Linked DNA regions of Homo sapiens: all the other regions are linked to region 3. The links are contacts of gene promoters, found by promoter capture Hi-C in human tissues and cell types (Jung and others, 2019). All regions are on one chromosome and are shown on one strand. The core of a region is centred on a gene start or on the middle of the fragment in contact, and the rest is flanking DNA. Distances in the headings are between cores, read along the strand shown.

Evidence for each region. The method cuts DNA at HindIII sites, captures the fragments that hold promoters and counts their contacts. A contact is called where the count stands out against the background at its distance.
Region 1: a contact is called between a fragment that was not itself captured here and the fragment with the promoter of RNASEH2B in region 3, in 1 of the 25 tissues and cell types used here (heart left ventricle).
Region 2: a contact is called between a fragment that was not itself captured here and the fragment with the promoter of RNASEH2B in region 3, in 1 of the 25 tissues and cell types used here (lymphoblastoid cells).
Region 4: a fragment that was not itself captured here is called in contact with the fragment with the promoter of RNASEH2B in region 3 in 1 of the 25 tissues and cell types used here (mesenchymal stem cells).

The regions. Positions count from the first base shown.
Region 1 is chr13:49,229,196-49,232,022 of GRCh38, reverse strand. No RefSeq gene overlaps it. Among named protein-coding and RNA genes, the nearest start is that of MLNR, 10 kb to the right of the region's middle. The HindIII fragment of the contact is 4,900 bases long and covers 1-2,827 here.
Region 2 is chr13:49,709,247-49,712,141 of GRCh38, reverse strand. It overlaps KPNA3 (karyopherin subunit alpha 3), which reads left to right. Exons shown (of 17, transcript NM_002267.4): 11 at 1,120-1,251; 12 at 2,442-2,570. Among named protein-coding and RNA genes, the nearest start is that of EBPL, 19 kb to the right of the region's middle. The HindIII fragment of the contact is 7,351 bases long and covers 1-2,895 here.
Region 3 is chr13:50,908,423-50,911,122 of GRCh38, reverse strand. RNASEH2B (ribonuclease H2 subunit B) reads right to left here and starts at 1,332. Exons shown (of 11, transcript NM_024570.4): 1 at 983-1,332. The coding sequence starts at 1,046. RNASEH2B-AS1 (RNASEH2B antisense RNA 1) reads left to right here and starts at 411. Exons shown (of 3, transcript NR_046552.1): 1 at 411-640. RefSeq lists silencers at 578-627, 838-1,077, 1,088-1,517. The HindIII fragment of the contact is 12,674 bases long and covers 1-2,700 here.
Region 4 is chr13:49,662,952-49,665,651 of GRCh38, reverse strand. It overlaps EBPL (EBP like), which reads left to right. Exons shown (of 4, transcript NM_032565.5): 3 at 2,457-2,595. Among named protein-coding and RNA genes, the nearest start is that of EBPL, 27 kb to the left of the region's middle. The HindIII fragment of the contact is 6,425 bases long and covers 1-2,700 here.

The sequences.
Region 1 (2,827 bases), core at 7-2,506, 1.7 Mb after region 3:
AGCTTGATTTAGCCATTCCACAATGTATACAACATATATCTATCAAAACATCATGTTGCATACAATAAACATATACAATTTTTATTTGTCAGTTTAAATAATTTCTTTAAAAAGTGCTGAGCATAGTTTGGTGTTGCCGTCGGGGGCTCAGGATCAGTGTGATGGACCTCACCATTGGATGTCCCACTTTTCCTCATTCTTTCCTGTCAGTCTAGTTACCCCATCTCCCAACATCACTGTTCTGTTGCTAATAGCCCTTCCTCTCTTGTGCCATCCTATTGAATGCTTTTAACATGCTATTGGTGGGCACAGCAGATGACCCAACTTGTTAGCAACTGTATTTTAAATGAAAATCAACCTCATGGACTTGAAAGCTTTATAAAAAGCTATTTTAGGTGCAACAAGTCTCTTTTGTTTAATTCTAGTACTTTTTTTTTTTTTTTTTTTTTGAGGCAGGGTCTTGCTCTCTTACCCAGGCTGGAGTGCAGTGGTACAATCACAGCTCACTGCAGCCTTGACCTCCTGGGCTCAAGTGATCCTCCCACCTCAGCCTCCCGAGTAGCTGGGACTACAGACATGCACCGCCACACCTGGATGTTTTTGTAGTTTTTGTAGAGATGAGATTTCGTCATGTTGCCTAGGCTGGTCTTGAACTCCTGGGCTTAAGCGATCCTCCTGTTTTGGCTTCCCAAAGTGTTGGGATTACAGGTGAGAGCTACTGTACCTGGCCTAATTCTAGCAAATTTCTAAAATATACCCAAACCTACAAGGCTGAGGGAAGTGAGGGATTCACAGAATAATTTATGTAGAAGAGATGACAAATAATTTGGTTCTAACCTTCTTACTTTACATGTGAGCAAACTGAGCTCAGAAAGATTTAATGACTCCTCAGATGGAGAGTTATTGTTAATAAACTATGTTCAGCAGAGTTTGCATGGTTTGAGCCAACAATCACTATAACATCTTTTATTTTATTATTATTATTTTTTGAGACAGGGTCTCACTCTGTCACCCAGGCTAGAGTGCAGTGGTGCAAGCATAACTCACTGCAGCCTTGAACTCCTGGGCTCAAGTGATTCTCCTGCCTCAGCCTCTCTAGCAGCTTGGGACTACAGGTGTGCACTCCCACACCTGGCTAACTTTTTAGTTTTTTTTGTAGAGACAGGGTCTTGCTATGTTGCCCAGGCTGGTCTTGAACTCCTGGCTTCAAATGGTCCTCCTGCCTTGGCCTCCCAAATACTATAAAATCTTAACTACATCCATGGAAGGAATTTCTGGTTACTAAAAGTAATACATTTAATGCTTGGTACAGTTTCTCTAAATTCCCCTGCTCTTTATTAAAACTTATTTAATCACATCTATACTTATTTACATACTTTTTTTCCCCCATCCTGACAAGTCACAGAATCTTGAGGTTAAGGGTCCTGGTCCTATTATTATTATTATTATTTTGAGACAGTCTCACTCTGTTGCCCAGGCTGGAGTGCAATGGCACAATCCCGGCTCACTGCAACCTCTACCTCCTGTGTTCAAGTGATTCTCATGCCTCAGCCTCCCGAGTAGCTGAGATTACAGGGATGTGCCACCACGTCCAGCTAGTTGGTTTTTTTTTTTTTTTTGTATTTTTAGTAGAGACAGGGTTTTACCATGTTGGCCAGGCTGTTCTCAAACTCCTGACCTCAAGTGATCCACCCACCTCTGCCTCCCAAAGTGCTGGGATTACAGGCCTATTCATTTTTATATATAGCCCAACAACTTAAACATAAAATATACTTTGTATTTTTTCCTTGTCGAAGGAAATCAAAATGTATATGGAAATTAGTAAAGGAACATTTAAAGAATCCAACTTAGGAACTGCTACTGGGAAATGTGTTTATGAAATGCATTTTTATTTTTATTTATTTTTAGAGGTGAGGTCTTGCTCTGTTGCCTAGGCTGGAGTGCGGTGGCTCGATCATAGCTCACTGCAGGTTTCAACCCCTGGGCTTAAGAGAGTAGTCCCCACCTCAGCCTCTTGCGTAGCTCGGACTATAAGGCTCAATCCATTGCACCTGGCCATTTTCATCTTTATTTAAGAAAGCCAGATGCTTGCATTAGGCACAAGAATCCAGTTTTTAAAGATGCATGCTGGAGGATAACTCAGAATCATATGAATGGGGTTATTATAAATACAAAAAATAACTGAAGACTTTCAGTGAAAGATAGCATCCTTTGGGAGTAAAATGCCAATGGTGTCCCTTAAAAAGCTAAGTAATGAAGTGAATATGCCTCTTATGAGTTGTTGGATTTTTAGAAAATAAATGTTCAGTACTTTTGTTTCATGTTTTTAAAAACAAACAAAAAGACCCAACAAGTGATAGTTAATAGGATATGAACTGAGGACAAAAATGCTAGCTCACATTTACTGAGAATTACTGCATTCCAGATGGCATACCAAGTACCTTGTATTATTATATGTTATACGTACATTGCAATAGTTATATAACTAAACACTCCATTATAATGTATTATAATACTGCAATGAACTTAGTTTTTAAGAAATCGATATTTTTCCCTGTCCAAAATGTTGCTATCCTCCATTTACATTTAAGTAGTATTTATCAAATCTATTACTACCCGGCACAATGCTAGTTGCTTTACACAGATTTAAATATTACTTCATTATCCTTTATGGTCTCAGTCATCACACAGAGTTACATTTTTTTTAGAAGAAGAACCACCCAGCTTGGAGCAGTGGCTCATGCCTAGAATCCCAGCACTTTGGGAGGCTGAGGCAGGCGGATTACTTGAGCCCAGGAGTTCAAGACCAGCTTGGGCAACATGGTGA
Region 2 (2,895 bases), core at 310-2,809, 1.2 Mb after region 3:
CCAGGGTGGGCAGTAGCCAGACTTTGTTCTCAGACCCAGCATCTGCAGACACCTCCAGCAGGGAGGCCTCCTCACTTCCAGAGTGGGAAATGGGCTGGTAGGTGGGCTCAGCTCTTAGGCCCAGCTTCTGTCCTCTCTTTTACACAGTCTTGAGGCAAGAGGTCCAGACAAAAGCTAGAATTTAATTTTTTCTCCTCTTACAGATAATGGAAATTTTTAGTGTTCTCTGACTCTTAGTAATGCTGAAGGGGTGTGGGTTATATGTGTAGTTCTATTTTATTTATTCATCTATATCCTTTTTTGAAGGGTATGTGAATTCAGGTGCCTGCTATTATTTTAGGGCAAAAAGATGTGATGTCTTCAATTTGGATGACCTAATAGGAAACATCTTGATTTTGCATAAGCTACAACCAGTGCTTATATTCCTCTGTGACGACACCAAGCAATGCCACATACAAGATCTTTGACCTTGAATGAATCACCAGATCGCTAAGCCTGTTTTCTTCTATGTAGTTGCAAAGTTAGGATAGGCCTAGGGCATGGTTTATACTCCAGGTTTATACTTCAGTTGGGGACACATTTCAGGAGATTTTCAAACAGTTTTTTCCCCAGATGAAGTTAAAGTGCCAAGTCATTTCTTTTATTGGTTTACTTTAGTAGCCTGAAAAATTGTATTGCTAAATATGTTGGAAAACCAGTAGAGTAAATAGATGACCTTTCTGTTCTCTTCTGAACTTGAAACAGTATGGTGTGTTGGCCTCATTCTTGTAAATAGTGTTTTTCTGTGGGATTATTAGGTAGCTAATTTGTGAGGGCAGGGAGAATTACTTTTCTGCCTGTTTTTAAATTCATCTGTCTGATACATAAATGCAGAAGTTGGAATAGAAGTTTTCCCAGACTTCTGTGTCTCATTTTCTGTGAAGAATGATCTGAGGTAGGCACTGAAAGAAAGATAAGGTACTTTCTACTTAATAGATTAATCAGCTAAGCAGATATTTTTGCCACTAAGCTAAAACTTGAAATTTGGTTACTTTTTCTGTCACTACTCCTGAGGTGTGTTGAACAAGTAAAGCATTCAAACAAATATGTAAAATGGTTTTTCTTTTGTGTTTCCTGTAGATTCTTGTAGACACTGTTTGGGCTCTGTCATACTTGACAGATGGAGGTAATGAACAGATACAGATGGTTATTGATTCAGGAGTTGTGCCCTTTCTTGTGCCCCTTCTGAGCCATCAGGAAGTCAAAGTTCAAGTAAGTATTTTTAAATTTTTCTTATTTGTATACAGTTGTGTTTGCTATAACCAGTTAACTTGTACAGCTAGGCTTTAATTCTATCTGTAAGTGCTTATCTTCCACATTTCTTCTGCTAGTCCCTGAGCCTGATTTTGTTGATTTCCAAATCTTTATCTCACCCAGTTTCTTTGCTGAGTTCCACACTTGTATAGCCAATTGTTCTTGACCCTTTATACATATCATCTAAGAACTCCTTCAAGCTTTCCGTGGTTAACTAGACAGAAATGAAACGATCATCTCCCACAAACCTGCTCTTCTTCCTTGTCTACCTTCAGTGAACAGCATGGCCTAAGCTAGAAATTTTGATTCCTCCTTGCAATTCCCATTCCATTACAAAATCATTTCAATTCTTCTTATATAGGTTCAAATCTGTCTCTCCTTATCTATCTAGAACAACAGATTTAGTTCAAGACTCTATCTTTCCCCCAAATAATTGCAATAACCTAATTGCATTTCTTCTTTCTCTCTCCCACTCTAATTAGGGGTAGGCACTTATTAGATCTGTTCATCCTGCTTTACCAAAGTGACTTTCTAGGTGGAAGTGTGTGCCCATTCCAGGCGTTTATTAAAATATTATATATATTTTTGAGATGGAGTCTTGTTCTGTCGCCCAAGCTGGAGTATGGTGGCGCGATCTCTGCTCACCGCAGCCTCTGCCTCTCAGGTTCAAGTGATTCTCCTGCCTCAGCCTTCAGAGTAGCTGGGATTACAGGCATGCACCATCACACCAGCTAATTTTTGTATTTCTAGTAGAGATGGAGTTTCACTATGTTGCCCAGGCTGGTCTTAAACTCCTGACCTCAGGTGATCCCCCCCGCCTCGGCCTCCCAAAATGCTGGGATTATAGGCATGAGCCACCATGCCCAGCCTTAAGAAACTGGACTTCTTCTAAAATTTTAATTTCCTTTTATTTTTTGAATCTTTTTCCAACCAATTTTCACACAATTTTTTTTTTTCATAAAGTTTCAGTTTTTCACAAGAGACTATTTAAAATTCAGAATAGCTCTCAGACTGCTTGGTGCTTTGTGAAAGGATGAAATAAGTGTTATTTATGCCTTGCATTTTTACTTTTTCTCAGGATTATGAAAAATATAGAATTAGTCTTATAAGCAAATAAATTTATAGAAAACATTTTATCCCCACCCTAGACAGCAGCCCTCAGAGCAGTTGGCAACATAGTGACTGGCACCGACGAGCAGACCCAGGTTGTTCTCAATTGTGATGTCCTGTCACACTTCCCAAATCTCTTATCACACCCAAAAGAGAAGATAAATAAGGTAAGGCATATAATGTCCTCATTATGCTATTTCTTTCTGTGTCTCATTTTTAACTGTCTCCTTGTTTCTATTGCTACTTGTATGTTTTTCTTAAAAGCCACTGCAGCGAAGATGAGAATTATTTTAAATCACCTCTGCAAATGTTTTTCTTCAACTTTTTTTTTTTTTTTTTTGAGACAGAGTCTGTCTGTTGCCTAGGCTGGAGTGCAGTGGCACGATCTCGGCTCACTGCAACCTCTGCCTCCTGGGTTCAAGCGATTCTCCTGCCTCAGCCTCCCGAGAAGCTGGGACTACAGGTGCCCGCCACCACGCCCAGCTAATTTTT
Region 3 (2,700 bases), core at 83-2,582:
GTTACTAGGGTGGTGTATACGTATGAAAAGTTCAGTGAGTTGCATACTTAAAATCCGTACACTTTATGTATGTTTTATTTTTAGAGGCAAAAAATATTATTGACAGCCTGTCATGTAAACATTTTCAATAACCATCATAAAACTCTAAATTCCTGGGAAAGAATATTGTTATCAGAGTATATTTACTGCCACAAACACTGCATTTGCTGAGCTAAAGTCAAAACTTAATACAGGGAACAGGAGATGTTCCTTTTTTCCAATGTTACATATATAAAAAGACCAAACCTTTCTGGCTTGCACTCCCTAGGCCAAATTCCTTTAACTGTGTCATTTAATCGGTCCTTCCTTGTGTGGCACTGGCTGTCCACTGTCCCAAGCCCTCGCATGTCCTGGATGGCCGGTCATCATCCACACGGGGGCTGAAAGGCCCGGCTCCAGCACTCCTGTGGTCATCATCCTGCTGAATCGCTTTGAACTACCCTTGGCCTAACCGCGACTCCCATCCCGCTTCCCTCCTGCCTCGCCACTGCAGGCCTGTCCCTTTGCTTTCTTAAAACTGCGCACCGTCTGAGGCCACTTCGAGCCTACTGGATCCCTGGTTCCAACCCAGTAGGATCACAGAAGCAGGGCCAGCTGCCAGGTAGGGGACACCAAGGGCAGAAACCTCCGGGGCCCGCAGCGCACCGGTGACCGCGAACCCGCGTGGCTCCCCTCAGGCTGAGTCGGCTTCCACCCTCCCACCCGAGCCACCGGGGATCAGGGCCCGGGAAACACGCTCGGTCCTTTTCGGCGCTTCCGGGTTTGAAAACCGCGGCTTGCTATGACGTGTGACCAAAATGCGGGGCCAGCTGTCCCAGAGAGAATCCCATCCCGCGCCGGGCCGGGTAGTGGGAGCCACCGGGGTGGGGGGCGGCGCGCCCGGGGTCGCGGGCCGCTCCGCCAGTTCTTGGGCCGACCCCGCCGCCCGGGCGCGCGTGTTTACCTGAAACCAGGAACACGTGCTGCCGGGCGCCAACCCCGTCCCCGCAGTCCACGCCAGCGGCCATGCCGCCCGCCTCTTCCGGGGCGCCGCAGGCTCAGCGCCGCGGGCCTCAGTCTCCCAGCCCCGCCGAAAATGGCGGGAGAAGGGTCTGTTCCGGGTGGCGCGGCGCGCTGAGGGACCGGCAGCGCCCGGGAGGAGGCCCAGGGACCGAATTTCGTTTCGTTTCCGAGACCAGCCTGCTGCTCGTGTTACGTTTTTAAATTTAGCGCCAGGCGAGGGGCTCTGAATGCCGGCCGGTGGCCGCAGGCAACGGGAAGGGGCCGCGGCCTCTCCCTCGCGGCTCCGCTAGTGGTAGGTGCTCATCGCGCGCCGCAGGGCGCCGAGTGACGCGGAGCGGGGCGGGGTCGCCGGGGCCCCGCGCTCTGTGGCTGCACCCAGCGGCCCTCCATGGTCTAGCCAGCGGGCTAGGATTGGGTCTGCGGGGTGTGTGCCCGGACAACGGGTGACGCCCGCCACACCCCCGGGGCCGGGGGACTCACCTGGAGCTAGTCCGTGTTAAGGACAATAGCAGTCACATCGGAATCCGAATGCAACTCTTAGCCATGGTCCTCAATTATTTGTGAATATATATTGGTCATCAGTTGCATTCTGTGTTGCTATTGATGTGAGAATATGTGTGCATTGTGAGCTACAAGGGATGTCCTCAATTTGGACTCCGTCCTCATCACTAAAAGAGGTGCACAGTTTTGGGCTCAGAATATGAATTTGTTGTTTTGGAGAACGCTGTATACTGAGTTAAAAACTTAGACATTTATTTAAAAAGTGATGTTTAAAAAGTTAGAGCCATGAAATTTGGGGATTTAAACTTTTAAAAATAACATTTTAATTGAAAAGTGTTGTTTGGTACATGGTTTTTAAGAAGAAAGTACATATTCCTTTCATACTTTAGAGAAAAGCACGGGCCAGGCGCAGTGGCTCAGGCCTGTAATCCCAGCACTTTGGGAGGCCGAGGCGGGCGGATCGCCTGAGGTCAGGAGCTGGAGACCAGCCTGACCAACAAGGTGAAACTCCGTCTCTACTGAAAATACAAAAATTAGCTGGGTGTGGTGGTGCACATCTGTAATCCCAGCTACTACGGAGGCTGAGGCACAAGAATCACTTGAACCCAGGAGATGGAGGTTGCAGTGAACCGAGATCCCACCACTGCACTCTGGCCTGGGCTACAGAGCTGGACTCTGTCAAAAAAAACAAAAACAAAAAAATCCACAAAAACCTATTTTTTTTTTTTTTAAAGAAAAGCATGATGTATCTCTTTTATCCCAGATCCCAGGGGTAACTGTTAACATTTCTTCTCTATTCTTGCAGAATTTTTCCATGCAAAAACAAGTTAATGTCTTATTTTTGCACAATTGAAAGAATAATATACATAACTCATGCACTTTGCTTTTCATGTTTAATCTTGAAGATAGTTAAATTTAGCAGCACTAAATTTATCTCGGCCCTCTGAAAAGGTTTTTAACTTCAAACCTGTTTCCCATGGGGTGAGACCAATACAGCTGCAGTTGATTGCAGGACACAGCTGGTGGAGAAGAGGCCTTTCTGGCTGAGGAAAGGCGCCTCTTGCCAGTTTTGGGGCAAGGAGCAGCAGATTGGTACTGCTCTGATCTTCCCTCTCCCCCAAAACGACTGTAGAAGATGCTGTGGTGTATAGCACAAAT
Region 4 (2,700 bases), core at 7-2,506, 1.2 Mb after region 3:
AGATGGATCACTTGAGGTTAAGTTTGAGACCAGCCTTGCCAACATTGTGAAACCCTGTCTCTACCAAAAATACAAAAATTAGGCCAGGTGCAGTGACTCAAGCCTGTAATCCCAGCACTTTAGGAGGCCAAAGCAGGTGGATCACCTGAGGTCAGGAGTTCAAGACCAGCCTGACCAACATGGTGAAACCCCATCTCTATTAAAAATACAAAATTAGCCGGGCATGGTGGTGAGTGCCTATAATCCTAGCTACTTGGGAGGCTGAGGCAGGAGAATTGCTTGAACACGGGAGGCGGAGGTTGCAGCGAGCCAAGATCTGGCCATTGCACTCCAGCCTGGGTGACAAAGTGAGACTCCGTCTCAGTCAGTCAGTATTAGCTGAGTGTGGTGGTGGGTGCCTGTAGTCCCAGCTATTTGGGAGGCTGAGGCTGGAGAATCACTTGAACCTGGGAGGCAGAGGTTGCAGTGAGCCGAGATCATGCCATTGCACTCCAGGCTGGGTAACAGTGAGACTCCTTCTCAAAAAAAAAAAAAAAAAGACTTGGTCAATATCTCTTTTTGTTCCTAAAGAACTGACATTTTACTTAGGTGATATTTTATTAGATTTTAGGTGCACTAACTGGTACATTTCACCTATTGTATGTATATTTAAATTTAGAGGAGAAACGTTTCAATATGACATTGTTTTCCAGTTAGTTATTGGAGGGCACAGGAGACTGCAGACAGTCAGCTAAGGACAGGCTGATGACTCTCGGTGGCCTCTCACAGAACATTCCCTCAGCATGTGCCTTGTGTGTTATCCCATTAAATAGCTAATCCTCTTATTGTCCTTTCTCTTAGGACAGCCTTTTGTTAGAAACCTTTGTCCCAGGCCCTGAGGGATCCTTCCTCTGGTCTTTATGAGACAAGAGCTGTGTGCTGCTCAGTAGCAGATCACAGGCTCCTCTGTGGACTTCACACCTTTTCTGAATAATGCGAGGCAGTATTAAAGGGGGAGACGAGGTGTGATCACTTCCATTTTTTCACTGTAATCATTTGAGATCTTAGGACCAGCATGTATTACTTTTACAAATTAAGAAAGTAATTAAATAATTTTTAATGGCCTCCATAATACCTGGCCATCATTCCAGCCCTGAAAAGACTTTCTGAGTCATGGTGTTCCTGAGAAGAAACCACTCTGATAATGGGTCTGGATGGATCTCTGAGAGCACACTGGCTCCCCAAGCAGCACAGCTGAGACTGTGTGAGAGCCATTGTGAGTTCCCTGTCCCTGTGGGCGGAGATGCCCCTCTGCCCACTCCGATTCATTCTGCAGTCTGGGCTCTCTCCTCCCCTCCCTGCCCACTGTCCCTTCAGCACCTAGTTTCTCTTCTGTTATTAATAAACGTGTTGTTGTATTGAGATAGAGTCTAGCTCTTGTTGCCCAGGCCGGAGTGCAGTGGTGCGATCTCGGTTCACTGCAACCTCCGCCTCCTGGGTTCAAGCGATTCTCTTGCCTCAGCCTCCCAAGTAGCTGAGATTACAGGCATGCGCCACCACGCCCAGCTACTTTTTGTATTTTTAGTAGAGACACGGTTTCGCCATGTTGGCTGAGCTGGTCCCAAACTCCTGACTTCAAGTGATCCGCCCACCTTGGCCTCCCAAAGTGCTGGGATTACAGGCGTGAGCCACCGTGCCTGGCCAAGAAACAAGTTTTTGGTTGTTTGTTTTTTTGTTTTTTTTTTTTTGAGACGGAGTCTCGCTCTGTCACCCAGGCTGGAGTGCAGTGGCGCAATCTCGGCTCACTGCAAGCTCCGCCTCCTGGGTTCATGCCATTCTCCTGCCTCAGCTGGGACTGCAGGTGCCCGCCACCATGCCTGGCTAATTTTTTGTATTTTTAGTAGAGACAGGGTTTCACCATGTTGGCCAGGATGGTCTCGATCTCCTGACCTCGTGATCTGCCCGCCTTGGCCTCCCAAAGTGTTGGGATTACAGGTGTGAGCCACCGTGCCTGGCCATAAACGTGTTTTTTATAAACATGTCCTTCATAACAAATTTCCCACATCTCCATTATACTTACAGAATTTATATGGAAATTTTGAAGTAAGGAATTACAATGTATTTACCAAGATCATGACTGGAGATTGTCTTTGCAAAATCTGACCATGTTGAATTCTTTTAAAATTCTGCTACTTATGTTGAAGAGGGTGGGGCTGAGGAGGGCGTGTATGTGAAAGCATGCTGGAAACTGAATGATTGGACACCTGTAAACCTGCTGCTGTTCTCAGTGCTTGTGTCAGGTGGTAAACGCATTTTGGTCCCAGGGCTTCTCCTGCCTTCCACTAAGGCATCGTGAAGAATGCAGAGAGAGTGGCGATTACTCATTTTATCTCCACCTTAAAGGAAAGAAAGGTCATTTCCATGAACTGTCATAAAAATTGTTGCCATTTGAGTAACAACATGGATTTTGTCTTTAGGGAAAGAATATGGCAAAGCTGATGCAAGATGGGTTTATTTTGATCCAACCATTGTGTCTGTGGAAATTCTGACCGTCGCCCTGGATGGGTCTCTGGCATTGTTCCTCATTTATGCCATAGTCAAAGAAAAATATTACCGGTAGGTGCCCTTCTTCTGTCCTGCTGGAAGGAGGGGAGACATTACATGTCCCAACACTTAGGTGACCTTTGGAGTAGGTTGTGACCACATATATTTGTTAGATAA